6 separate regions of the Homo sapiens genome follow, and all the other regions are linked to region 3. Evidence: promoter capture Hi-C in 16 types of primary human blood cells and fetal thymus (Javierre and others, 2016). All regions are on one chromosome and are shown on one strand. The core of a region is centred on a gene start or on the middle of the fragment in contact, and the rest is flanking DNA. Distances in the headings are between cores, read along the strand shown.

Evidence for each region. The method cuts DNA at HindIII sites, captures the fragments that hold promoters and counts their contacts. A CHiCAGO score of 5 or more calls a contact.
Region 1: a contact is called between a fragment that was not itself captured here and the fragment with the promoter of NACC2 in region 3, in 8 of 17 cell types (total CD8 T cells, naive CD8 T cells, megakaryocytes and 5 more). The highest score is 9.7, in total CD8 T cells.
Region 2: a fragment that was not itself captured here is called in contact with the fragment with the promoter of NACC2 in region 3 in 7 of 17 cell types (megakaryocytes, naive CD4 T cells, monocytes and 4 more); the score reaches 9.6 in megakaryocytes.
Region 4: a fragment that was not itself captured here is called in contact with the fragment with the promoter of NACC2 in region 3 in 2 of 17 cell types (megakaryocytes and M0 macrophages); the score reaches 6.0 in megakaryocytes.
Region 5: a fragment that was not itself captured here is called in contact with the fragment with the promoter of NACC2 in region 3 in 1 of 17 cell types (M1 macrophages); the score reaches 5.5 in M1 macrophages.
Region 6: a contact is called between a fragment that was not itself captured here and the fragment with the promoter of NACC2 in region 3, in 2 of 17 cell types (megakaryocytes and naive CD4 T cells). The highest score is 5.3, in megakaryocytes.

Annotation. Positions count from the first base shown.
Region 1 is chr9:136,240,379-136,244,787 of GRCh38, forward strand. All of the region lies in intron 1 of QSOX2 (quiescin sulfhydryl oxidase 2), which reads right to left. Among named protein-coding and RNA genes, the nearest start is that of QSOX2, 3.2 kb to the right of the region's middle. The HindIII fragment of the contact is 3,219 bases long and covers 1-3,083 here.
Region 2 is chr9:135,865,174-135,869,895 of GRCh38, forward strand. CAMSAP1 (calmodulin regulated spectrin associated protein 1) reads right to left here. Exons shown (of 17, transcript NM_015447.4): 4 at 1,283-1,363. Among named protein-coding and RNA genes, the nearest start is that of CAMSAP1, 40 kb to the right of the region's middle. The HindIII fragment of the contact is 660 bases long and covers 1,021-1,680 here.
Region 3 is chr9:136,093,694-136,098,608 of GRCh38, forward strand. It overlaps NACC2 (NACC family member 2), which reads right to left and starts at 1,596. Exons shown (of 6, transcript NM_144653.5): 1 at 1,496-1,596. RefSeq lists an enhancer at 1-303 and silencers at 1,509-1,638, 1,959-2,058. The HindIII fragment of the contact is 6,619 bases long and covers 1-2,694 here.
Region 4 is chr9:135,953,823-135,958,161 of GRCh38, forward strand. It overlaps UBAC1 (UBA domain containing 1), which reads right to left. Exons shown (of 10, transcript NM_016172.3): 2 at 1,473-1,593. Among named protein-coding and RNA genes, the nearest start is that of UBAC1, 5.4 kb to the right of the region's middle. The HindIII fragment of the contact is 9,505 bases long and covers 1-4,339 here.
Region 5 is chr9:135,881,891-135,886,363 of GRCh38, forward strand. It overlaps CAMSAP1 (calmodulin regulated spectrin associated protein 1), which reads right to left. Exons shown (of 17, transcript NM_015447.4): 2 at 926-1,188. Among named protein-coding and RNA genes, the nearest start is that of CAMSAP1, 23 kb to the right of the region's middle. The HindIII fragment of the contact is 2,817 bases long and covers 1,107-3,923 here.
Region 6 is chr9:136,262,526-136,267,098 of GRCh38, forward strand. CCDC187 (coiled-coil domain containing 187) reads right to left here. Exons shown (of 26, transcript NM_001378188.1): 17 at 3,431-3,518; 18 at 1,097-1,273. Among named protein-coding and RNA genes, the nearest start is that of QSOX2, 19 kb to the left of the region's middle. The HindIII fragment of the contact is 7,726 bases long and covers 1-4,573 here.

The sequences.
Region 1 (4,409 bases), core at 224-2,723, 150 kb after region 3:
CAGTATCAAATCGTTCTAGAAAATGATTACAGTAAAGATAAAACAATCTCCCAAGTTGAAAGGCAACTAGGGAGCTGTGTTTAAGGGACAGAGGTCCACTGCAGCCTCTCCTTCCTGAGTCAGGGCCATGCTGGGGTCTCGAACTCCGCATACCAGTCCCTGGAGAAGACCCTCTCTGGGTGGAGCCCCCTCTTGGCTGAGCAAAGGTCTTCTTAGCTAAGCTCCAAGTTCAAGGCACAAGTTTGGAATAACAGGCCTGGGTAGAAATGAAACCCACCTAGCGACCAGGAGAGCCTAACACAAATCACCTAGAAGTTGCCAAGGGCTGGTCTGAGAAAACCCGGGCACACGCTACGGTCGCCTCATCTGGGGACTGAGGGCAGGGCTGGGTCCCATGGACTCTTGATCCCCAGCATTTAACTCAATTCTGGTAAACCAAAACTACACGTTCTTCAGCCTCGAAGGGTGCTCCGAGGTGACAGCAATTCCAATGCTGTTTATCTGTTGGTAGGGAATGACAGTCCCTCAGCCCGTCCTCTGTCAGGGAAGCCCAAGCAGTGCTTATGACCTGGGTCACCCCATGGCACGACGACCGGCATGACACAGCGGAGACGGCTCCCTGGACGTGGCTGTAAGGCCCTCTTAGCAAACCATCCCGTCTTACTTCAACAACAAGTAAGTGGCCTGGGTCTCTCGGTGTAGTCTCAGACGCACCAACCACAGCCACTGGGGAGGCCAGCGGGGAGCCCGGCTGCTCCGATGCACCATCCTTTCTGTAAAATACTCATGTGGTCGCCACAGCGGGGCTACATTAAGCCATTTCTGGGCCCGTAAGGAGACAGGAGGCCTCCACTGCCCAACTCTTCCTCCTTCCACCCTCTCCATCCTCCCGAGTCCAGTGAGCACCTGGCAGCTCTCACGGGCCGTCAGCCCCGCCAAATGCCCGCTGACACCTGCATGTCCCCCTCCCTCTGGCCCTTATTGTTTCTTTTTCCAGTAAACGGACAATGAGCCTGTGGGGAACACCAAGTTCTAATTCATCTCCAAGAAGCCTGCAGCCTAGTCGAGTAGACAAGAAACCAGACCAAGTGGGACAGAGGAGCTGGCAGCAATCACAGAATGCCCTACCCTTCCTTCAAGAGATGTCGGATGTGTCCAGCTCCCAACCCCCACCTGTCCTCTACAAAGACACAGGAATGAACTGCCATGGCTCCAGGTCACCCACACCTGGACACCCATCCCGGCCTGTCACTCAGCTGCGTGACCGTGACTATCCCACGCAACCTCACGTGCTATCACCTGCAACATGAGCGCCCCCGCACTCCTGAGGACAGGTGTGGGAGGACTCGGCCTGTTCCACGCAACCTCATGTGCTATCATCTACAACATAAGCGTTCCCGCCCTCCTGAGGGCAGGTCTAGGAGGACTCAGCCTGTTGTGGGTGGTGGCCTGCCCTGTTTTCTCAGGCTGACCAAGTGAAGGAGATGGGAGGGAACAGGCACCAGGGCCACAGAGGGCGCACGGGGACACAGGCCCTGCCTTTAGGGTGCACCCTCTTGTCCACTCAAGACTGCAGAGGCATTTCGGAGATCTCACCGGTCAGACGGGCCAAAGTGTAGCCCCAGGCCCTGGTGCCTCATCTTCCATCACAAACCCAGCAACCATCACTGCCAGGCAGATCTTCAGGAACCCAACAAGGTTTTGTTCTGCAAAGTACTTAGAAGTGACAGGCTTAAGCCAAATCTCCACAAACACTAGAATGACACTTGGTCACACCAAACAGTACAACTTTTGTTTCTTAAGCCACCTTCTTATAAGAAAAAACATTTATTTTCCCAGCCTTGAAAAAGCCAGTCAAGAGCTAAAGTTCAATCCAAATTTCTGAGGAAAACAAAGGTGCCCTGGCCTGTCCTGCTCCTTCCAGCTGGAGGCTCCTGGGAAGCAGAGCCCACACCTAACCATCCTCTCCAGCAGCCACAGGCATGAAGAACGCAGGGCGTGGCGGGCGCTGGCCAGGGGGACCAGTGGGAGAAGGCGGCTGGACACTCTAGGTAGAAGTGGGGGCCCAAGCCATGGCCTGTGTGCCCCCAGGGGATCAGCAGGATGACCTAAGTCACAGGTGATTGATCAGGGCCACAGGTGACTGATCTGAGTCAGGTCAACAGGGACATAAGAAAACATGAGAATGTTGACAACGGGAATGCCTGCATGCAGCCAGACCCCTGCACTGCCACGGGCAATGGGCGCCCTATCCCTGTGGGACAGCTCCACGCAGGGATGACAGACAGGGAGCCAGGCGCCAAGCAGACAGTTCTGAGCTGGCAGGTCTGGGCTGGGGCTGTGGAGAAGCAGGCATTTCTAACAAGGCCCTAAGTGGCCCTACTTTGAGAGTCCCAGCCTTAGAACAGCTCCGGGGACTCCTCAGTGCCAAGGGCCTTTCATCCCTTTCTACCCGGACTCTACCTCCCACAAGCCTCATGGGCACAGCTTGGCTCTCAGGACTGTAAACCAAAAATAAAATCCTGAGTCCCCTAACTGACTGAATTGAACCCCCTCTTGGCCAAGGAGACCCCAGGGCAACCTGAGGAAAGAAATTCCAGGCCCTGACGGCAAGGGAGGTCAGACACGCCTGGTTACATCACCTCCCTTTGGAGTTTAGGCAGAGCTGACCAGCGTGATGAAACAGAGATCACAGACAGACAGCACAGCCTCAGCAGCAACGACACCAAACTCCAGCCTGACTCGGGTACAGCACCACATGACAAATAGCACACCCTGCAGGAAATCAAAATATTTCACCCCCAAATACATTTATTTCCCTGACATATTTGAAATGGTCCTGCAAAGCTGTCTTTTGTGAGGGAAATTTGCATCTGTAGAGAATCTCCCTCCCTTTCTAGGTCTTTCCTGGATCTAGGAGACATTTAACGAGTCTGACAGCATTCAGGTCTGAAAAGAGACATTTACCCTCTATTCTCCCCAAGGCTGCTGCCTGTGAGGCTTCATCTACTTAACCTTGGCCTCCACAGCCCCTTTAGCTTAACTCAAGCATTTCTCTTTGCTGACTTCAAGTCTTTAGACAAAGCTTAACTCTTTCAATCAATTGCCAGTCAGAATCCACCTATGATCTGTAAACCTACCCCTTCCTATACCTTACATGTACTGATTTATGTCTCTCTGCCTATAACTTCTGTCTCCCTAAAATGTATAAAATCAAATTAACGTGACTGCCTAGAGCACACTTTCTTAGGACCTCTTGACACTGTTCCCCTGGCCATGGCCACTACACTTATTGGCTCAGAACAAACCTCTTTCAGTATTTTATAGTTTGGCTTTTTAGCCAACAGGACCCTCTGCCTGGGCTCCCTGAAGCCCTCTCCCTGCTGCCTGGTCAGGTCACCGCTGTCTTTCACTTTCAGCCATATCCTCCTCCAGTCTCAGTCTCAGGCACAAGCCTGTTCTTCCTGTCGTGACTGGGAAGACAGTCAGCCTCACTAAAGGAGGCTTACTGAGTTGAGTTCATCACACCACTGGGTATGGACGTTACTGTGTGGCTCTCAGGAGGGGCCTTCCTTCTGAGCTCCAGGGACAGTTCTCAAGGCTGCCTATGTGCTGCTTCGGTTACAGAATTTGCAATATTTGAATCTGGTACGATCTTTAGACTTCAGCGACTCAACTGAAAAAAAAAAATCAAAACCAAAACCCACAAAAAAAGTGACCAAGTCCTGCCAGGGCCACCTGCATTTTAATGAACATATCTGTTTCTGCCACTGAATAACACACAAGAACTGAAGGGTTCCCTACGTGATTGAATTACTTGTTTGTTTTCCTAAAAGCAGTGTCTAAAAACCCCACTGAACAGTTTTTCTGTCCATCTCTTCCAGTCTCTGACCTCAGTTCTGAGTCAGGTCAACAGGGACATAAGAAAACATGAGATCAAAGAGGAGGAATCCATTAGAATCAAAAGGCCCCAGCTCTCTAAGAGGAGAATGCATTTTAAAGATAACCATTTACAGTAACATACAAAAGCCCTACTTAGACTTGAAAAAAAGTTTCTTTACAAATCTGTTTGCGATGAGAAAAATACAGCAGGATTGGGTGTAAGGCATAAAAACAAAGGTGCAGGAAGAAAGAGTAGCAATTTGTTACAGATCTTGCCCACTGAAACATGTAATTTGAGGTTAGCACAACACAGGAAGTCCTGCCAAACCTCACTGGGTCGGGAGGACCTCCTACTTCAGTGATTTAAATACCATTTTAAGGGAAGGGTGTTGTGAATGCCCCCTCCCACGCCAACTCTAACCTGTAGAGCAGGCGAGTAACTTCGTGACTGGTTAACAACGTGCGACCAGATGAAAGCACTAAACAATAAAGTGCGGAACACTACCAGCAGTTTGGTGAAAGATTTC
Region 2 (4,722 bases), core at 101-2,600, 230 kb before region 3:
TCAGGCCAATTCTTGTACTATATAAATAACTCCAAGGTGGGACATTTAAACAACAACAACAAAAAAACAGTTTTGGGTGCGAGCAGTTTTTAATGGAAGCAAGTGATCGCGACAGGATGGCTCTGTAGATGGCAGCTGGCGGCTTGGGGTTCACTTACAGGCACTAACTTCCAATACCACTTGGAGGGAGACTGCTCAGGAAGCGAGAGAAGGAAGGCAGGAGAGGAGCATCAGCAGAGCAGGTCCACGTGTGGACGAGGTAACACACACTTCCCCACGGCGTTTACACGGCAGAGGCGGGAGAGCCTCTGGTAAGCAAAGTCTTCTAAGTGTACGTGGCCATAGTCATGTTGTATTAGCAGATGATTAAAGTGGAAGATCACGAGTCACCTCCACAACACTATTCTTTGCAGTAGCAAAGAAAACTTCGGAAACTTGGTATGGGCTGGGTACCAAAAGGCAAGAAGTCAGCTCTGACGCGGGAAGGGTCTAGTGCTTAGTCTGTACCCATGTGTTAAACATGACCATCTGAGGAACAGGGAGGAAGCTCAATGCTTAAGATCCAGATGAGGGAGGCATACCAGGCGGCCTGACTCACCCACCCACCCAGCTAACAAATGCATGGCCAGGGGCTGGTGCCACTGGAGGGGGAAGAAGGAACAGGGGAAGGCAGCACACTGCCCTTCAAAGGCGAGACCTTATAGATGGTCGGGCTGCATCTTGTGTGCACTGAACTGAGTGAATTCAGTCACACATGTGCTTGCAAAAGAGAAAATAACGTCAGAGGAAGAAAAAGGCTAATGGCTGGAAGGTGCAGCCCAGCCATCGTGCTACTTCAGTAGGCACGTAGGGTTCATCCAGCAGAATCATGGCACAGGCACACAGGTACACCACCAGCTACGCTGTACCTCATGAGCCACTTAAGGACTTTTCGAGGGCATCTTTAGCAACAGGCAATTTCCCCCTTGTTTGTTGACTTGTGGAAGCTAGCACCCAGGTGGGCCCTACGTCCCTCACTCAAGCTTCCCAATTCCCCCAAATACCCTCACGCACCATAAAGTGCAATACAAAACACCCCTTCCCAGGAGAGGCGGGGCAGGCTGCCGTGGTCACATCTCACTGAGGTGTGGAGAATCAGCCCACCAGGTGAATCCAAGAGACTAGCTGCTTCTTTGGTGAGTAAAAATAGAGAATAAGCAAATAGTGGGAACTAACAGAATTCTTTAAAATTGGGACCAACATTAACTTAGTGCATTCCAGAAAAATTAAATTTACCCTTTACCTTTTGATGAGCTGGACTTTCCAATAACTGTTGTTTTAATTTAACTTCTTTCTCTGTTATCTCTCTCATTTTAAGATTTACCTAAAGTAGAAGAGAAATGCATTAAAGAGGTAATTGCTGTCCCGCACAATTGTATCTCCACAATTATCCCCCAGAGACCCCCACTTCACCTGATTCACCTCTGACTCCTAGACATAGGTATTGTTTAGGCCAATTACACAGATACAGAAGTACACGGATTCCACATGATCCACAACAAGGTCCGCCTGCTACCACCAGGAAACCACCTGCCCCCGACCCCCACCCCAATGCCAGCGCAGTGCTCCCCCGTCACTGCGGGGCAGAGTCACTACATCTTGGCAGTGGTCACTCACCACACAAGTACTGTCAAACAGCTAAGCTTCTCCAACACCAACAGCAAATGCCACTTACAAAACAATCTGGTGGAGACACCTCACTAAAGAGCCTAACTTGTGACAGGATGGGTCACACATCCCAGACCATGCAAAAATCATACCAAACCAAATCTAATTATAAAAGTTTAACTATACACCCCTTAAAAATTAATTCAACTTCTTAGAAATTTAAGTATTCTCTCCTGTAATTACTAACTCAATATCAAAATTGCAATCATAAAGTATGGAGAAAAACACTCAGCAGTGCTTAAAGGGGCTAGGTAAAAGCCATGATCAGACAAAAAGACACAGAGCTGAATGCTTCGTCATCAAACAACACAGACAAAGGAGTCCACCATGCACATCAAATCAGGAGTACGAAAAACTGTTTTTAAAAATAAAGACAAAAAAAATATAGATAATGTAAAATTCAATCAATGAGAAAGTAGAAGAAAGGATATTTAAATCCACAACCAAGTTTTGTATGCATGATTAAAAGAGTCCTTTGCAAAGGACGAGTGTGGCAGCTCACACGTATCATCCCAGCCACTTGGAAGGCTGAGGCACGAAGATCACTTGAGTCCAAAAACCGCACGCCAGCCTAGGCAACACAGCAAGACCCCCCTCTTTTTTTTTTTTAAAAAAAAAGTCTGTAAAGCTAATCAAGAAAATGAATGAAAATACCAATACATAACATGAAACAGTCATATTTTTGGAGGAAAGTCGAAGCCACTAAAAAAGCACCACGTAAAAACACATCCTTCTTAAAATGTAAATTAATTTGAAATTTTTAATGAAACTAACATTTTAAAGGAAAATATAAATTACCAAAAAATCAAGAAGACTAAACAGAGTAAATCAAACATTTGCTTGTAACTCTGATCCCTGTGAAAATAATACAGAAAAGATAATTTAAAAGCTGAAAATCCACAGGACAAACAAGGCAAGAGGGGAACCCTGTAAGCAAGGGAAACCTACACAGAGCAGAGCCAGTGCAGCCCCAGTGCTGGAGAAGAGATGCCAGGCAGGGGCCCTGCAAACAACCCCAAGACGCCTCCCATCCTCAGACCAGAGACAAGGCTGCAGACAAGACAACGGTTGAAAGTCAGTGTCTTAAAAAGTTGGAGCAAGAACCCAGTCCCACCTCATCCCACAAAGTAACCCCAGCAGCATAACAGAATGGAGCCATATTTTCACCTGAAAGAAAATTCAGTCAACCTAAAATTTTATATCCAGCCGTATATTTGGAAAATGAAAGCAAAATGTCTTTTTCAGAAAAAAAAACAAAAAAGCTGAGAGAATTCAGTAGAACTGCTTGTAAAAAAAAAAAATGCTAAAAGAAGTTTTTTAGGCTGAAGGAAACGATACAGATGGAAAATATTTTATTAAATCTCTACCTTATAGTACAACTTCTTTTGTATTCCATGACCACATGGTCAGCAGGCACAAAGCACCTCTCCTGTGGTCCAAATGACATCAGTGACCTCGGGACATGCACCTGTGCACCTGACTGAGTTACAAGCTGAGCCATTAACAAACCAGTTATTCACATTTGCAAACATGTTAAGACATCATCTCAAAACCAAAGAAGTGTTTTTTGTTTTTTTTTAAATGAATGTCTGTCACTAAAAGAAAACTACTTTTTTCCAGTAATAAAATTTGAATTTCAGAAAAAATTTAAATTTTGGAAAACTTGTTTCTGCCACCAAAAGCTAGATAACTTCCTAACATGTAAAGGCTTTTCTGATGAGATTGGCAATTTTTTTTTTTTTTTTTTTTTTTTTTGAGATGGTGTCTTGCTCTGTCGCCCAGGCTGAAGTGCGGTGGCATGATCTCGGCTCACTGCAAGCTCCGCCTCCCATGTCTCGCCATTCTCCTGCGTCAGCCTCCTGAATAGTTGGGACTACAGGCGCCCACCACCACGCCTGGCTAATTTTTTGTGTTTTTAGCAGAGACAGGATTTCACCGTGTTAGCCAGGATGATCTCGATATCCTGACCTCGTGATCCACCTGCCTCAGCCTCCCAAAGTGCTGGGATTACAGGTGTGAGCCACCACGCCCAGCCAAGATTGGCAATATCAATGAATGTAAGTTTTGATACTGTGTCATGAAATGTGACAACATTTGGAAGATCTACATAACTCAGTGAAACAATTTTCCGAATGACCAAAGCATGAAGCTGCAAAACCCTGGGTGGGTAAAAGGTCCAGGAAGAATGCAAGAACTAGAAATGGTTACTATATAGTAATAACAGAGTATAAAAACTCACTGATCTAGTACCCAGAATCTATAAAAGAACAATACAACCATAAAAAGACAATCCAATTTTTAAATAGGCAAAGGGTATGAATTCCTCCAAAGAAGATATACAGTCAGGCACGGTGGCTCACACCTGTAATCCCAGCACTTTGGGAGGCTGAAGCAGATGGAGCTCTTGAGCTCAGGAGTTCAAGACCAGCCTGGGCAACATGACGAAACCCTGTCTCTACAAAAAATACAAAAATTAGTCAGGTGTGGTGGCTCACACCTGTAATCCTAGCTACTTGAGAGGCTGAGGCAGGAGAATCACTTGAACCCAGGAGGCAGAGGTTGCAGTGAGCCACGACCGCACCACTGCACTCCCGCTTGGGCAAAAGGGCGAGACTCAGTCTCAAACAAAAAAAAAAAAAAACAGCCAGAAAATAACAAATGTTAGCAAGGATGGGGAAAACTAGAACCCTCAGATGCAGCCAGTGGGAATGCAAAATGGCACAGCTGCTGTGGAAGACAGTCTGGAAGTTCCTCAAAAAGCTAAACACAGAATGAATACATGACCCAGCAATTCCACCCCAGGTACATACCCAAGAAAAATGAAAACATGTATTCACACAGGAAACTTGTGCATGAAATCAGCATTATTCACAATAGTCAAGATGCAGAAACACCACAAATGCCCATCAACTGATAAATGAATAAACAAAACGAGGCGTAAGCACACAGTGGAATATTATTCAGGCATAAAAAGGAATGAAACGCTGACACCCGCTACAACACAGAAGAACCCTG
Region 3 (4,915 bases), core at 346-2,845:
ACAGTGACCCCAGGGGAAAACGCCAAGAGGCCTCTTTAAGGGAGGGGCTGGGAAAGGCCCCACAGAGGACCAGAGGGGTGCTCCAACGGTGGCCGGGAGAAGAAGGGGTGGGTGGCTGAGAGGTGGCGGGTGGGGCGGGGGCTGCCTGAACCCTGACCTAACTCTAGGCGCCCCTGCTGGGGGGTGCTACAGGCTAAAACACCCTGCAGAATGCTGAGCTGAGTGTCCCACTGGAGAACAGGAGGGAAGGAGGTCAGGAGCCTGCCAGACGAAAAGAGGGGTGGGTGAGAAGAAGGGGCGACCTGGAGGGACACGGACTCTGGCAGGAGAGTGCGGCCGCGCTGGCGGGCGGGAACACCAAGGTGCACGCGCTCCCGGAGGCAGCTCCACGGGATGGGAGTCCGGGCTGCCTTGGGCACCCCCGGGTCAGCACCCCCGCCACACACAGGAAGGAACGCGCAGCAGAGAACACAGCTCAGGGCACCCAGCGGCCCAGGGAGACGGGCCCACCAGCACGTGGGTGAAACACCTCCAATCCGGAGGCCCCGCGCGGGGGTTGGGGGAGGGAGTGGAACGGCCTGGGAGGCCAACTCCAGGGACCCGGCCTCGCGGCCTTCAGACCCACAGGTTTAAGCGGCTCCACGACGAGAGTCCAAGACCAAACTTCCCCCAGAGCCTGGCAGAGGGGCTGGGAGGTGACCTCTGACCTCCGACCCCACACGATCCCAGCAAGAGAAGCAGGAAACTCCGTCGGAAGGCCTCGGTCCGCCCTGGCCGTGCGGGGTGCGCGGCGGGCCCCGGGCTCCGCTGAGTTTCTTAGAGAAGGAGCTGGGGCCCCCCGACCTCAGCTCCGCAGAGGCACAGAAGCTGGCAAGAGGCAGAGCCCCCTCCCCCTGCGGCCGGACCCCAGTTTCTCCCCAGGCTGGGGCCCGAGTGGGGGAGGCGCGGGAGGCGGTGACGACCCACGAACGGGCCCACCTGGACCGGGAGGGCGAGGCGCGGGCCCGGCTGGGCCAGGCAGCTGCGCAGATGCGCCGGGAGGGGTGGGTACCTCCGCCCTGGCCCCGGGCCAGTCCTGCCCCGGCTTCCCCACCCGGAGGGCTGGATCGGCCAGTCGGGTCCCTGGGGAGGCCGCGCGGGTCCCCAGAAATCCAGGGAAACCCAGCAGGCGGCGGGGAGCGCCCCGGGACGCCCGGAGCCGGGGTCTCCCCGAACGCGCGGCGCGGCGTCCCGGCCCGGGGTCGCGGGCGCCTCCGCCGGGACCCCCCGGCCCCGCCCGGCCCCCCTCCGCGGGCTCCCGAGGCCGGTTCCCGCGCGCACGCCCGGGCCGGCGCGGAACTCGGCCGCACCCGCCCCGCGCGGCCGGCACTGCGGCAGGGGGCTCGCGCCAAGTTGGGCGGCCGCGGAGTTTGCGGGAAGTGCGGGCCCGGCCCGTGGGACGACCCCGCCCGGCGGCGTAACCCGGGGGCGGCCGCGCGCGCCAAGTTGGCGGTACCTGCGGGCGCCCGGCCCGGTCCGGCCTGGGCAGCTGCGGCGCGCCGCCCGCGGCAGGAAGTGCTTGGCGTCCCGGCGCTCCGGCTCCCATGGACTTTCTCCGACCTCGCCCAGCACCGGCGGCCGCACCGCGGCGGGGGCGGGGCGGCGGCGGGGGAGGTGCCCGCGGGCCGTTAAAGGGACAGCGCGCCGGCCGCGCGCGCGCGCGCACTGGCAGCCAGGTGGGCTCCCGGGGTCGGGGCTGGGGTCCGGGGGCCGGGAGGGTCCCCAGTGGGGGCCGGCGGGGCGTGGGGAACCCCGAGCGCTGGGGAGGGGAGGCGGCAGCTCCTCGCCCCTCGCGCGTCCTCCTTCCGGAGCTGCCGGCGGTCGACCCTGCGCGGGACACCCGGCGGGAGCCGGACGCCGCGGCGCAGAGGACGGAGCTCGGCGGCCGGGTCGGGAAAGGACCTGGAGCGCCGCCCTCCGCCCTCCCCGGGCCCCGGCCTCGGCCGGACTCGCTAAGCCCGGGAGAGCCCCCGGGCCCCCCTACCCCGCCCCCGGCGCGCGCCCTGCCCGCGGCAGTCGCGTCCGCACGGTGCAGCCTCCGGGATCCGGGCGGGGGAAGTGCGCGCATCCGCAGCCGCCCTGGACGCTCAGGCGGGCCGTGAAAGACGAGGATACGGGAGCGCCCTTGGGCGAACGTCTGCGGGGCTCCGGCGCCCGTCCCTGCGGCCCGGGAACTGCAAGCTGCCTGGACTGGGCCTGGCGCTGCCTTCAGGCCTGGTGTGATCCGGGCGCACTGGGGCGTTGACAGTCATTCCGGCACCGGCCACGCAGCTCTCCATCTGCCCAAGGCCACGCTCCTGAGGACAGAGGTGCAGTTTTAAAACAAGGGCACGGAAATAAAACGGCCACACACCCGGAAAGACCCAGAGACCCCTCCTCAGCTGCCCCCTAACCTGGGGCCTGAGGTCAGGACAGGCTGCAGTGGTCCTCAGAGGCTAAGCCAGCCTCACTCCCACAGCACGCTCAAGGGTCCTTGCAGGAGAATGGAGTGATACCGCCTCAGTGGTCCCGAGCGAGGGCGCTGGGAGAAGGGTTGAGAAGGAGATGGCCACCAGCATCCCAGAGAACGCCTTTGGGGCTCTGGGGATCAGAAACCTGGGGCTACAGCCCTTCTGGCACAGTCAGCCAAGGTCATTCCCTGGACAAATCATCAGAAGCTTGGCCAGGTTCTTGTCACCCCAACCTCAAGCTAGGCCCTTGATCTTGGCCACAGACTGGCCCTTGACCCCAACTTTAGGTTCTATTCAGCTCTGCGTCCAGAACACACACACACACACACACACACACTTCACTCCCTGGCTTGCCTTGTATGGGGGTGAGTATGGAACCCCGCAGGGACTCTGGGCTCTCCCCACAGAGTCCCATCTAGACCTAAATGCAGTCCCAGGTCCCACACCCCAACCCCCCTCCCCCCACCACTGCCACTTCCAAACCCGCCCCGCAGTCTACTGTGGGAAGGAGGTGGGGTAGGAGGGTTCTGAGTGCCTCCTACACCCAGGGCATGAGCTCAGCAGCCTCAGGGTTCTGGTGCTTCCTAGGCCTGACTTTACAATCTCTGCAGGATCTCTCAGTGAGCATAGCTACCCCAAGCCCCTGAGAATCGTGAATCCCAGAGACAGATGCCTGGAGCTGCTTCCAGCCCTGGGGCAGGCCTCAAGGGGCTACCCACTAGGACCCGTGGCCCTCCAGGGATGGGAATGATTGTTTTAATCACTTTTATTTTCTAAATATTAAAGACATTCTTCCTTAGTGAAGGATATTTGGAAAGCATTGAAAAGTGTTTAGAAGATAGCGGATAAGCAGAAATCAATTCCCCAATTTCTGTGTGCCTATACGTATGTACACCAACATATATTTGCACCTTTTAAAGCAAACCCTGCATCCCTACTGAATTCCAGGCCCGTGCTACTGAGTATGTACACCTTACCGCATTTAACGTTCACAACAGTACCATGAGGTGAGCTCTGTTTATTCCTTTTTTTTTTTTTTTTTTTGAGTCCGAGTCTCACACTGTTGCCCAGGCTGGGGTGCAGTGGCGCGATCTCAGCTCACTGTAACCTCTGCCTCCCGGGTTCAAGCGATTCTCCTGCCTCAGCCTCCCGAGTAGCTGGCATTATCGGCACGTGCCACCACGCCCAGCTAATTTTTGTATTTTTAGTAGAGACGGGGTTTCACCATGTTAGGCAGGCTGGTCTTGAACTCCTGACCTCAGGTGATCCACCTGCCTCAACCTCCCGAAGTGCTGGGATCACAGGTGTGAGCCACTGCGCCCAGCCTTATTCCCGTTTTACAGCTTAGCCTGGGGCTCACTCAGGGGTCCCCAGCAGGGCCTGGGCTGAGTGGGGCTCACCCCGGGTGCATCCTCCGCATCTCCTCCCTGCATTTGATCTTGTTGATTCCTGGCTGCTACAAGGGCCTGGGGGCCACAGTCTCAACTGAGCATAGCAGCACCGCTGCTATGGGTCTCCAGCTCAGGGAGGCCCCATCCGGGATCCAGGCCTGAGTTCTCACGGCCTTGCAACTTGATTTTTCCCCTTCCATCCAGAAAGCATTGGGCAGGGGGTAAGGGGAGGTCACAAGCCACATCTGCAGACACTGCAGAGCCCCTGGGTGCGCTCAGGAGTCATACACAGAGGACCAACCTGTTTGCCTGGACACCTGCGTGTCCTCCCCTGGATGGCAGAAGCCTTTGATGGCTCTCCAGGTGCTGCTACCATTGTGCAGGTGGTGACATCCCACCCCAATCTCACGCCAGATCCAGTCTGTGCCCATCCTAACAGCTCTGTGTTAAAGTCATGTCGGAGCCACCCTCCTGGTCCACAACTGCCCTGTTCTCCAGTGATTGCCACAGCCCCCTTCCCCACCCCGGTCCCTAGCCTCCCCTCCAGCCCTGCCCCAGCCTGTCACAACACAGCAGCACAGGGCTGCTTCTAAACCTGTTGGATTACCCCCACCCGCTCAGAACCCCCAAGAGCTCCCCAATGTCCTTCTTGCTCAGAGCACAAGCCCGGGTGATTGGGTGACCAGGACCCAGCTCACCACCCCCGCCTCATACCCCACCCCACCCATGCCCCACATCCTTCCCCACCCCACATCCCACCCGTGGTAGCCTCGTCCACGCCAGTGCCTGCTCAGCTGTAGCGAGGCTGGCTTCTGCTGTACCTGCTGCCCCAGGGCCCTTGCACCCGCTGTTCCCACTGCCTGAACCTTCTGCCCCTGTGTCTCCAAGGCTTGCTCTGTCACTTTCTTTGAGTCTCCACCCCAATATCCCTGGCTCAGGAAGCCTTCCCTGACCCTTCCTTATGAAAGAGCCACATGGCCGTCGGCAGCAGGCACCCAGACGCCATCCTGACACTGGTCCGCCCTTGGCTTCCAT
Region 4 (4,339 bases), core at 125-2,624, 140 kb before region 3:
GCTGGATGCCCTGAGAACAGAACAGCAGGGATTCGGCCGGGCGCAGTGGCTCCCATCTGTAATCCCAGCACTTTGGGAGGCTGAGGCGGGCAAATTACCTGAGGTCAGGTGTTCAAGACAAGCCTGGCCAACACGGTGAAACCCCATCTCTACTAAAAATACAAAAATTAGCCAGGCGTGGTGGCGCATGCCTGTAATCCCAGCTACTGGGGAGGCTGAGGCAGGAGAATCACTTGAACCTGGGAGGCGGAGGTTGCACTGAGCCAAGATTGCACCACTGCACTCCAGCCTGGGCAACAGAGCAAGACTTCATCTTAAAAAAAAAAAAAAAAAAGAAGAAGAGCAGGGCTTCAGCTGGGTGCAGTGGCTCACTCCTGTAATCCCAGCACGAGGCAGGCGGATCACTTGAGCCCAGGAGTTCAAGACCAGCCTGGACAACATGGCGAGACCCCATCTCTACGAAAATATAAAAAATAGTTGCGCATGGTGGCACATGCCCGTAGTCCCAGCTACTTGGGAGACTGAGGTGGGAGGACTGCTTGAGCCCAGGAGGTCAAGGCAACAGTGAGCCTGACTGTGCCTCTGCACTCCAGCCTGGGTGACTGAGCGACACCCTGTCTCAAAAGAGCATGGGTTCCTTTGGTCCCCCCAAACCAAGCATCTACACCAGCCTTCCCTCACTTTTGCATGATATCTGCATGGCCCTAGCTGAGGTACAAGCTCCCAGGCCTGGCACGAACCCCCAGGTGACCCATGGCCCAGGAGGCAGGCACAGCACGGCCCCAATAATTGTGCAAAGAATTGGTGACAATCCTGCAACAGGCATTTTAACCGGCTCAGTTCTGAAAAAGTCTGTGAGGGTGGAGAGTTTAGTCTTAACCCTCAGAGGTCAAAACCTGAGATGCAGCTCATCCTCGGCCCACGACGGTGCCCATCCCCCACTGGCTTGGAGCTTGATGGTCATCTCAGCGGATATCTGTTAGCAATACTTCCAGGATTTTCAAAACAGCTTACTTCAAGGACTTCCACAATTAAAGGCATTATTTGAATGACACAGACAAAACTGATGTCTGCTCTTCAAGTGCCTCCAGACACAAAACCATAAGCAATTACATGGATGTGTGTGTCTAACACTGCACTGGGATGCCAACATCACCACAACGAAGGTGAAACCTGCAGAACCCCTGGAGTCTCTGGCTTTGCTCTGAAACAGAACTAAAAGCAAAATTCACATTTGGCTTCTCAAATGCCTGCTGCTTGTTCAATTTCAATTTCTGCTGTTTTTCACAAATACTCTATAACAGAACTCTTTTTAATAAAGGAAAAACAGAATGCTTTTAGTCGATCTCGTTTTTGTGCTCGTGTCCAGCTCAGAACACTGACTCCTGTGGGTGGACCACCCCCTCCTGGCTCCAGCGCCCCCAGCAGTGCACGATGCCTGCTGCCAACCCGCCCGCCCACAGCAGCCTTACCTTGGTCCTGGATGTTCTCTTCCAGGATGGTCCTGGCATCACTCAGCACCCTCTCTGAGGCAGCGTGGATTAATTTATGATGGGTTATACTTTTGGGATCTTCTAAGCTCCCATGAGCACACTGGGGAAAAATAGAAATTTCAAGGTAGAAAATAAGTAAATCGTAATTCTAATAATATAGGACCTGGCATCCCAAGCTACACCAGGAATTTACTGGGTTTTCTTATGAGCTAAGAAATTACACCATGGATGAAATTAAAGAATTCCCACTAATGGTAGATGCCAAATGAAGCATCATAGCACCAGTGAGCTGATCCCCAGCCCATGGAGTACTCCTGAAGCAAGCTCCCAGCTCTGATATACCACACCCTACTGACAATTCGCGGCCACCAGAATTGCTTCTTTGGTCTAGAAAGATCTGGAAAATAATTTTAAATGAAAACAGCAGATCCATTGTTTCCTGATGACCTAAAGATCTACCTAAGTTTTGGGTAGCTGTTTTTCTTTTTTCCACAGACGCATGAAAGGGGCCAGAAAGGCTGCCCAGAAAGAAGACTGGCTCACAGAGAGCCTGAGATGGGGATAAGAGGAGCGCTCGGCATGACTGCTCTCAGCTTGGCTCAGCTCACTAAGTAACAGCCATGCTGCATCCCGAGATTGGGATAAGAGGGGCACTTAGCATGACTGCTCTCGGCGTGGCCCAGCTCACGAAGCAACAGCCATGCTGCACCCCTGGGCGGCTTGAAGGTGGACCAATGGGCACGCAGTCACCAGGGCCCTGGAAACCCTGCCACACCCGGGCAGGGAACGGGAGGCAACACATGGGTAGCAGTGAGGGGATCCCCTTCACACACACCACAGCCACCTCCGAGCAGCGCTCACGGGGGACCTGGGAAGCCATCTTGACAGCTACTGAGTGCAAACTCCAGGAGGAAGTTGGAGCAGACGGCCATGACCCCTTCCAACCCTGCCATTACAAAGATCTCACAGCCAACTGCTGGCAGGGGTAGATCCTGCTCCTCAATTCGGCCAGCATCCTCTCTGCAAAACAGCACACAGCTGTCCCTGATTCATGCACGTGGCACTGGCTTGCGGGAGTCCTGCTTTCCTTTGAACACGGGGGCTAGGCGCGTCGGCTCACCATTTTGTGAAGAATGGCAAACACTGATGGTGCCGTGTGATGAAGACTGAGGTCGGCACATGTGCCTGCATGTTCGTGCCCAAGTCGGTCCAGAGCTCCACGACTCCACTCTATTATCTACCTCAGCACCATACAGCCCGACACACGACAGCACAGCACAGCACACCACCGCACAGCACAGCACCGCACACCACACCAAACAGTGCCCACCTAACCAAATATGGCGCCTCCCCAGCCGGAATCGTGGGGTGAGAGGAGAGGGGCTGCACTTCTGTGTTTCACAAAATACCCACAGTTTCCATAGCCTGGCCTGAAAACCCTTCAGAACTCAGAGCTTGGACGGAGAGAAGGCTGACTATTTTCTTGCTCTTACAGATCCCCTGAGGTTTGATGGTAGAATTACCTGACTATCAGAAAAGGATGAAACCCTCACTGGGCACTTTCTAAACCCGGTAGCAGGCTCAGCCTGTGGGTCAGGAGCATGGCCCAGCCTGGAGCTGGGCCGGGGCACCACCCCAGGACAGGCCGTCCTCGGACGTCTCAGGTGGCCGGGCAGACGCCCTGCTGGCAGCTCACTTTCCACCACCCTTTGCTGCCACAGAGGCTCTGAAACACCCAGCACACACAACTGCTTGCTGGGAAAGAAAATCTAAGCACACACTTCACCTCTCAACACTGGCATTTTCAGAGTAACTGGAATTTCTGTTACTCTCAAGACTGAAAACGGTTTTGAAAAAGGGATTGACGGCTTCAGGGGCTCACTCCTTCACACAAAACTGGCCAGGCTGAGGGGATGTTGGGGGGACGCAGCTACTAGGAAGACACACTCCTGCCATTTACAACAGGGCAGAGAACCCTCAAGTGCCTCTGGATTTGACAATGGCTCTGCTCCCTGAAATACTGGGGGTGCTTCCTCATGATCCTAAAGTTTGCAGGCTAGTTCATTTGTCAAGTTCAGAATACAGACTACGAAATGCAGTTTTCCAAAATAATTCTCATACTGATTCCCAAAAAACCCACAGTCCACGTGTCACCAGCACACCAGGAACAACACGGAAGCACTAGGACGACCGTGTCACTCTGCTTCTTTGTTCTCGGCAGAAGCTGGGGTATGGCAGCAAAAAAGCCCCAACCAAGGCCGCTGGAGTAGGGAGGCCCTCACACCCCCACCCCACTCCATCCTGCTCCTCCCCAGAAGAGTAGTGACTTCGTTTCTGCTTGTACCTGATGCAACCTGCCATCTGAGGACCCATCTTCATGCGATCTAGGAAATGGAAAATTTAACAGCTATACTAGCGGGTACTCTCTTCTAGTCTGGCAATTTTATGAACTCCTTCTTTTTTTTTTTTTTTTTTTAAAGACAGGGTCTCATTCTGTCACCCAGGCTGGAGTGCAGTGGCGCGATCTCCGCTTATTGCAACCTCCGCTTCCCAGGTTCAAGCGATTCTTGTGCCTCAGCCTCCTGAGTAGGTGGGATTACAGGAGTCCGCGACCATGCCAGGCTATTTTTTTACATTTTTAGTACAGAAGGGGTATTGCCATGTTGGCCAGGCTGGAATTTCATGAATGTTTACGACACACCAAAAACTCTACTGCACCACAGGTATAATTTTCTTTTTTTTTTTTTTTGAGACGGAGTCTCTCTCCGTCGCCCAGGCTGGAGTGCAGTGGCTTGATCTCGGCTCACTGCAAGTCCCACCTCCCAGGTTCACACCATTCTCCTGTC
Region 5 (4,473 bases), core at 1,265-3,764, 210 kb before region 3:
TTCTTCATCCCTCGCCCTTTCCGTCTGAAGAGATACTCAGATTTGAGACCTGCCTCCCCCGCACCATCACTGTTCCAAGCCTGGCATTTCTGGTCAAGCCTCAAGACCGTCTGGAACCAGGAGTCCGTTCTCAGGCAGGCAGGCCAGCCCTGTGGCCCACAGTGCACTGTCTCACACTGTCCTTTCTTATCTCCTCAACAGCCCTGTGGGACTCCCAGGAAAGGCGGTGCAGCTCCCAGGTCGTGGTTGTGGGAAGGCAGACAGGAGACCTGCCCCAGGCCAACTGCCCACCAGAGGCCTCTGGCTCCTAGTCCAGAGCTCTACCTGCTACAGCTGCACCACGCCTTAGTGCAGCTTCCTCATTCGACAGGAATGACACTCTCTTCAACCACCGCACGGCACCCGCAGTCTCACCGGGAACGCCATGGGAGCAACCAAACAAAGGCAGTGCAGGAGGCACCGAGAATGGCCCTGACCCAGAACGCTCTGGAAAAGGCACACCAGTAGCAAGGCTTCAGAGAAAGATGGGGGTGGGATACTTGGGGGAGAAAAAGGCAGACTGAGTTATTTTAGCACAAAGTATGCATGAAACAACCTAACAGAATGGGTGCAACAATTACATTTCTCATCTGTAAAAAGTCTGCTTCAAGTATTTTTATTAACAGGCCTCACTCCAATCTCAGCATTCACAGAGCATTCCCAATGAGAAAAAGAGCTCAATGAAAGCTCTCTTTTCCCCATTCTCCACAACAGTCATGTGCTTTAAAAGATATGCAGTTTCCTAAGGAACGCCAGTGTGCAAAAGCACGGGTCTCCACCACCTCGCCGCACACCGTGTTCACACCATCCATGCACCAGGTGCGCCACACGAGAGCCCACGGCTCCAGAGGATGGCCCCTGGGGGCGGCCACCGCAGACCACTCACCATTTTTATGGGTGCGCGACTGAGGTCGGACTCTGTCACGGGGGTGTCATCACTCTCCATCACATAGATCCCTTTCCGGGACAGGGCCTGGATGACAGACTGGTGTCCCTGTAAGGCGGCCACCTGGTCCCCTTTCAGGATGAGGCTGCAGACACGGCAGTACAGCTCGCTGGACAGGAGAAGCTTGATAACAGGCGGCTTAATGTGCTCCTGCTCATACTGGTCAACGTAGAAAGGGTCTCTGAGGTCCTCAGGGATGTTATCTAAGACAGGGAGGGGATGACCAGGTGAGTGCCACACACAAGACCCAAAGGAAGGAGTTCAAGGCTGCAGTGAACTATGACTGTGCCACTGTACTCCAGCCTGGGCAACACAGGGAGACCAAGTGTCAAAAAAAATAATTGATTGATTGATTAAATGAGCAACTAACAACGTGAAAAGGCTCTAGGCTTTTCAATAATTCTACTGTCTTCTGTACTTACAAAGGCAACTAACTGTAGCATCTCAGACTACTCTGTGAACACAGACAACTGAAATCATTTCGTGACCTCCACCGTGACCTCAAAGGATGACTGTCCTAACTTAACAGCAGTAAGAAGGTAGACATGGGAGCCCTGAGTGTGTTAATGGGGCTGAGGGGAAACCAGCACAGGCTAGGACCATGTAGTGCCTGGGGACACCAGCGGAGACAGCATGTGGGCAGGGCTGGCATCAGCCCGGGGAGGGAGCCCAGCATCCTCTTTCTGACATGAAAATCAGAAGTGATAACAGAGGGTGAACACCCATGGTCTTTACAGAAGAGGGAGCCAGGCAGGCGTGGTGCCACTGTAACCATGACGACACAGCAGCAGCAGCAGCAATCAGCCTTTATCCATTTTTGGACCAGGCAGCATCAAACTCTTGACATGAACCACGCTACTTAATCTTGCCACTGCAGTTCCCTCAAATGAGGACTACCATCTGCACATTACAAATGAGAAATTGAGGCACAGAGAAAGTAAGTGCTCAAGGCCACAGGAGGCAGAGACCAGCCTGAACCCACACAATCTGATCCAGAGAGCCTACTGTATACTTCCGGCTGCAACATACGCCGCCTCCCACACAAACAGCGCAGGAGCAGCATACACACGGGACACCGAATGTGTCACAGCTGGCCTCACCCACTTTTCTAGCCTTGCCACTATGCCCCTCACACTGTCTCACAAGACATCAACGGCTGTCCCACTAAAGACGGAGGACGAGGGATGTCTGCAGTCAGACACATTTCGGAAACACGTGACCCCCAGGTCTTTAATGTGCCCCGCGCCCAACACTCTGCTAGGAGGTGCAGATACTCCCACCTCCACAGAGTTTAGAAAGGACTACCACCTCCACAGAACAGCTCATGAAGAAACCCCACTGACTCCTAGCGTTCAGACAACCAGTAACACTAGAGACATTCATGGGGACACTAACAAACCTGTCTTGTGTTCCGAGCCAAGCTCTCCTAAGCTCTTCCCCAGGGGAAGAACCAGCTGTGGCGATGGTTCCCCACAGCACCCCTCTCTCTCTGCTGCCATCTCTTCTGGCTTCCTTCACTATTTTCCTGAGCCCTGAGTCACTTCATTATGGTCCCATGGAGTCTGGTCATTTCCCCACAATCTGAGCACCTCATAGCTGGTTTACTTCTAAACGGCAGCAGTCACCGTTTACACAGCATTTTTGTTTTAAGCATGGTTGTACACAATGATTAGGTCATCACGGCAACCCAAGGGCAGCCAGGGCTCCAGCTATGGAAGGCTGGCTTAGTGGATGTTAACAGACTCAAATCCTATACTTGCTGACCACATCGAGTAGCCCCCTAATCTGAAATCATTGGAACTTTTGAAATACAACAGAGCACAGCAGTAACACAAGGAACAGGCCCCAATGCCAAGCACAACGGGAAGACTTCTGCTGTCCTTACAAACTGCTCAAGGAAAGCTGACCTGCAGAGGTGAGCACAGAGCCACCCCGCACACGCCGGAGTGAGACGTCCCAGGAAACAAGAGCAAGGTGGCCAGGGACAAACAGGCGGCCTGTGGGCCCATGTTTGTCCAAGTTCCCTCCACCCATGGGCCGTGGAGGGAAGTCAGGGGAGGGCACTGAGCAAGGGATCCCATAACCTGAAAACGTTTGCAGCAGTTCACACCGGCTGCGGGGAAAGATGCGACAGTCACTCTCAGCCTTCCTCTTATTCAACTGACCACACCAGCAGCCCACCTAGTCAGGGCTCTTGGAGGGAGCTGCCTTTCTCCTTTCGGGGTACCTGGCCTCTTCCTCCCATCTCGCTGCCTGCTCCATCCCCATCTCCTAGGCCAGCTGCCCCTCACTTCTCCAAATATTGGAAGGGGCACTTCCTATCTCACTCCTCCCTAATGACCTAATTCAGTCTCATGGCTAGAAATACCACAGACACACAGTCATCCCCAAATGTACATTTCTGGCCCTGATCACTTCCCTGAACTGCCTATCTGACATCTCCATGTAGATGTCTGGGGGCACCTCGAGCCTAACCGGCCTGGTCCAAGCCACCCTCTCCTCCCACTTAGACAACTGTGATGCAGTCCCCCTAGGAGAGCAGAAACTGGCACAGCTGAGGAGAAAGGCCCCAGGGGACCCCTCAGAGTGATGGCTCTGTGCAGAGTGGGAGACGGGACAGGCACGTAAGTGGAGGGCTGGCATTAGATGGAAGCAGGGTGAGCCCCAGGGAGAATGGCAGAGCCTACCTCACAGATGCAGAAACCTGGCCAGACAGGAAAAAGCAACCATGGCTCTGATTTAAGTTTCTCTTTTACAATCTACCAAGTAGAAACGTTTGCCATAGGGTGACCCACTTTTAAAATTAATCAATATAAAGTGATTCATATAATCACCTTTTTGAATCATATATGAATATGCATAACACAACTAATTCACATAAATTTCAGATGCAGGAAAATGAGAGTTAAAGGAAAATGACGCACTTACTAAAGATACAAGCTTCAGACTGTGGTGAAGCCCTCCTAACTGTATGTTACTCCTTTCCATCCGGCCTAAGGAAGACCCTGGCCAGACCCCCAACTGGGTGACAGTGGCCACACTCCTCCATGGCCCTGCTGTGGCAGTTCTGCCCTCAGACACTGCACTTGTCCATGAGTAACTGGCTTCAGTGAAAGCAACTACTGCGAGAGCTGGATGTGCACAGTTCTAGAACGTTTAACGTTCTATCAAAATCAATACCTACTTAAAAAAAAAAAAAAACTTTGTGATGCCTTCAATGTATTTCTAATAGTTTCTTGTTGTTTTTTCTACAAACCAGTAAGACTGTTAGAATTAATACACATTCATTCGACAATTATTAAGTACCCATGTGAGCCAGAAAATGTACAAAAATGCCAGGGAGTCAAACAGGAAGAGATAAAGTCACTGTTCTCAGGCTGAGCCTCGTAAGACAACTGAAAAGTCAACAGGTAATTTCCACGCAATGTGGAGGGTGTCACACAGGATGAGTGCTGGGGGACTGGGGTGCAGGAGACACCAGTCCCGCA
Region 6 (4,573 bases), core at 1,711-4,210, 170 kb after region 3:
CTGGTGGCTTCACGTGGCTGTGGCTGTGGCAGGGCTAGGGCAGTGCCGGGGCTGCTTGCTCCCCACTGGGTGCCAGGCTGAGACAGGACCTCTCATTTGAGCAGGGGTCCTGCACCCCCACTGAGAGGTATGGATGGGAGGCCCAGAATGAGGAGTTTTTCCCAAGGCTGGCCAGAGACCCCCATGCCCAGCTCTGGAATCAGGTTGCTGGTGTCCCCTCTCCTGCAGCCCAGCCTGGAGCAGGTGCTTCAGAGAGCTCAGATCATTCAATCCTCATCCCCACCCTCCAGGTGAGCCTGCTGCCCTCCCTGCCTTACAGAGGAGACGCGCAGGTGGGGAAGGCACATAGCTTGCCTGGGGACAGTCCCCCACCCCTTGTCCACACAGCGTCCTCACTCCGTCTGCCGGTGGACATGGGGGACAGGAGCCTCCCTCCAAGGATGCAGCTGCTGCTTGGGGTCCCTGAGGGGCTGGCCTCCCTGAGGAGCTCCCAGCCACACTCTCCTTCCTGCCTGGGTCCCATGAGATCCCCAGTCCTGCTTATCCTCCCCACCCAATCCACCGCTGCCCCCACCTGAAGTCTGGCTCTGCTCTAGGGCCTGGCCAGGACCACCCCATCCAGGAAGCCTCCTCAGCCCCCCAGCAGTGTCCCCTCCCTCCCTCCATCTGCCCCACCCCACCCCCCAGCAAGTCTGCCTGGGGCCACAGGCTTTTTTTTTTTTTTTTTTTGAGACGAAGTCTCCCTGTCGCCCAGGGTGGAGTGCAGTGGCATATCTCGGCTCACTGCAGACTCCGCCCCCCGGGGTTCATGCCATTCTCCTGCCTCAGCCTCCCGAGTAGCTGGGACCACAGGCACCCACCACCTTGCCTGGATAATTTTTTGTATTTTTAGTAGAGACGGGGTTTCACTGTGTTAGCCAGGATGGTCTCCATCTCCTGACCTCGTGATCCACCCGCCTCGGCCTCCCAAAGTGCTGGGATTACAGGCGTGAGACACCGCGCCCGGCCCACAGGCATTTTTACAAGGGACTTGCACGATCATGGGAAGGGGACAGCATTTCTGCAGCTGAGTCCCAGCCCAGGCGAGAGCACCCACCTGCTGCAGCTTGGCCTGGGCCTGCAGCTCGTGCGCTGGGACGACGTCCGTGGGCCCCGGGATGGGGAGGATGTCCACAGGCCCCGGCATGGAGACGACGTCCCTCTGATGCTGCAGAAGCAGCTTCCTGTCCCGGTGCCTGAACAGCTGCGTGTGTCTCAGGTATTGGATTTCCCTCTGAGCAGGCAAAATAAGCAGATGTCAGCATAACCCCGGAGCCAGCAGGGGAAAAGGCCAACAAAAGGGAAGGGGTGTCTGGGGGGATGCCCTGGCCCTCACACTGGGAGGCCTCCCTTTCCCTCCAATTGGCCTTTGCCCGCCCCTCCTGCCGGGCCTAGGATACCCCCATGGCCTTGGGCTTCCCTGGGCTTGGTGGAGGAGGCAGCTGCGGGCGGCAGGAGGGAGGCAGGTACTCTTTCCCCAGGGCCCACGCAGGGCTGGCACAGGCTGGCTGGGCCTCGCCCTCCCTCTCTGCAGGCTCCAGGCACTGCCCCCACCCCGTCACTCCTTTACAACTGTTCTTTCTGTTCCCCACAGCGTCCCTGGTGGACGCACCCTCGGAACAACCTTGCACAGAGCCCAGGGCCGGGCCGGGCCGTTGCACACTCGCCCTGGGAGACAGCAGCTTCACTGGTGAGACGGGAAAGCGAGGCTCTGCCAAGCGGGTGTCTGGTCCATGGCCCCACTGGGGAGTCCCAGACCCCACCTCCACCACGGCATCTCTATCTGCGACACGCAGCCTGGCTGTGGCTGGGAGTCCCTGGCCCCGGCCAGCTCCAGCTCCTCCCGCCTGGGATCCCTGGGCAGCGCCTGTTCTGCCAGGCCCCGTCGTTGCCATGTGACATGCAGACCCCTTCTAAGCCCCTTTTGTTTCCCCGGCTCACGTTGTTCTCTGTGGTGCCTGCCTTTTCCTGTTTCTCCGTATCTGAGAGGACCTGTGCATGGGTCTGTGGCCTGGGTCTCCGCCCCCAGCTCCCTTGCCTGTAATGCCCCATGCCTGACACCCCAGGTCGTAGTATGTACAGGGCATCCAGGGCAGGGATGGGGATCCCGGGGCTTTCCAGTCAACATAAGGTCCTGCACTGACCCCATTTCCCAGCAGAGGGTCGTGGGCAAAGTAGTCCCCCACCCCAGCTCACCTTTTTTTTTTTTGAAACAAGGTCTCACTCTGTTGCCCAGGCTGGAGTGCAGTGGTGCAAGCTCAGCTCACTGCAGCCTTGACCTCCCAAGCTCAAGCAATCCTCCCATCTCAGTCCACCAAATAGCTGGGACTATAGGCATTGGCCACCTATAGTGGCAGATTTATTTTTTGTAGAGACGGGGTCTTGCTATGTTGCCCAGGCCTGTCTCACATTCCTGGGCTCAAGCGATCCTCCCACCTTGGCCTCCCAAAGTGCTGGAATTACGGATGAACTGCCTCACCCAGCCAGGTTCTTTTATCTGTACCAAGGGTGTTAGCGCCAGCCTCTGCCCCACAGCATGGGGGCACTGAAGTGAGGATGCAGGCACAGCGGCCGCGACCTGTGAGGAGCCCTTGAGCCTGTGACCTGGGCAGGGGCCGGCAAGGGTCCTCGTCCTGGCTCTCAGGCTTGCCCCTCAGCCTTGCTCTCTGCCGCAGGCAAAGCCCTGACTCTGGCAGCTTTTCCCCCCTCCACATGTGCCCCCAGCACCGACTTTCCCTGGGGGTCTGCTTCCTCCAGTCCCTGGTGACAACGATGGCAGGAAGGCAGGTGCAGCCACGGATGGAGACCCCTCCCTGCCAGGCGCGGCTAGGGATTCACCTGCACCACCCTCCCAGCCCCCATGCATGTGCACATCAGGCTTCTCCCCATTTTTCAGATGAGGGAACTGGGCTCGGAGCAGCTGGGAAAGTCCTCTGAGGGCGTACATGGCACACGTCCACCCGGGTAAGTGCTGGCTGCACTAAACTCTCCCAACCCCCTGCTTTACAGAGACCACAATTATTCTCTGGTTCCAAGGAGGAAACTGAGGCTCCAAGAGACAAAGCCACTTGCTCAAGGTGACATCCAGCAAAAGGCTGAGCCTGGTCTGGAGCCAGGGCCACAGGGCCACCCTCCACTCTGGCCACGAGGCCCCCAGAAGGCCGCAGACACTCCTTGTGTACAGGACCACGCTCCACCCTGGCCGTGATGCCCTCTTGGGCCGTGGACACTCCTTCTATACTTCGGGGTCCTGTATGGCCCTGGAGGGTGGCAAGGGCTTGGGAATTCTTTAGCTCTGTTGCTGGGGAATGTTCAGATTCCAGGCAAGAAGATGACACGACTGCCTCTGTGAGCCGCCCACCCTGACCCACCAGGCCTGTGCTGGCCCCACCTGCTCCTTCTCCAATCTGCTGAGGGCTTGCTGCTGCTTCTCAACCAGCGCGGCCAGCACAGCTCTGTCCCTCTTGCTGTCCAGGCACCTGGGGGGAGGTGGCAACATCACTGCCAATGTTGACAGCCCGTGCAAGTGGATATAGAAAGTCACAGACACAGCCAGCCCTGGTCGGCCACATCAACCTGGAATGCCCTCCCAAGGTGCAGGCACCAGGGAGGACGCAGCCATGCGTGGACAGGCTTGGAAGCCTTGGGGTGGCCAGATGGCCCAACCCGGGCTGTCACTCTTCCACCCCTCACAGCCACTTTTGGACTTTTGGGTCTAAAGAGACAAAGGCTAGCCGAGAGCCGCCCCTGCCACCCTGAAGGCCCAGCCCAGGCCAGTGGGTCCTCTGGGGAGGGAGGTGGGGGTCACCCACATCCACCCCCCACCCATCATGGAATAAACACCCTCAGTCTGGCCCGCTCAGACACCGGGTGAGGATGTTAACTGGAATCACCTTTCTGGAGACCAATGTGGCAGTATCAAGCGGCTTCCAGATGCATTCTCACTGACCCGGTCATTCCATTTCTAAGGTTTTACCTTAAGGAAATGATCTCTCTATCTTCATTAATAATGGCAAAACGTTGGAGACAACCTAGAGGCCCGGAGATCCGGGACAAGCGAAGGGAGTTACAGCCCTGTCTCTACGCCGGTGCGCCCTGTGTGTTATAGCGGTTATGTAGCTACACAGAAAGGTTTTCCTGACATATAAATTGAAAACGCAAGTTACAAAACAGCACGTACTGCCCATTTGCAAGTTGAAATAGCCATGTGTGTTTCTCCCCAAAACAGAGTATCCGCACTGGGCGTGGTGGCTCTCGCCTGTAATCCCAGCACTTTGAGAGGCCGTGGCTGGCGGATCAACTGAGGTAGGGAGTTCGAGACCAGCCTGACCAACATGGAGAAACCCCATCTCTACTAAAAATACAAAATTAGCTGGGCGTGGTGGCGCACACCTGTAGTCCCAGCTACTCGGGAGACTGAGGCAGGAGAATCCCTTGAACCTGGGAGGCGGAGGTTGCAGTGAGCCTAGATCGCGCCACGCGCCTCTACACTCCAGCCTGAGCAACAAGAGCGAAACTCTGTCTCAAAACAAAA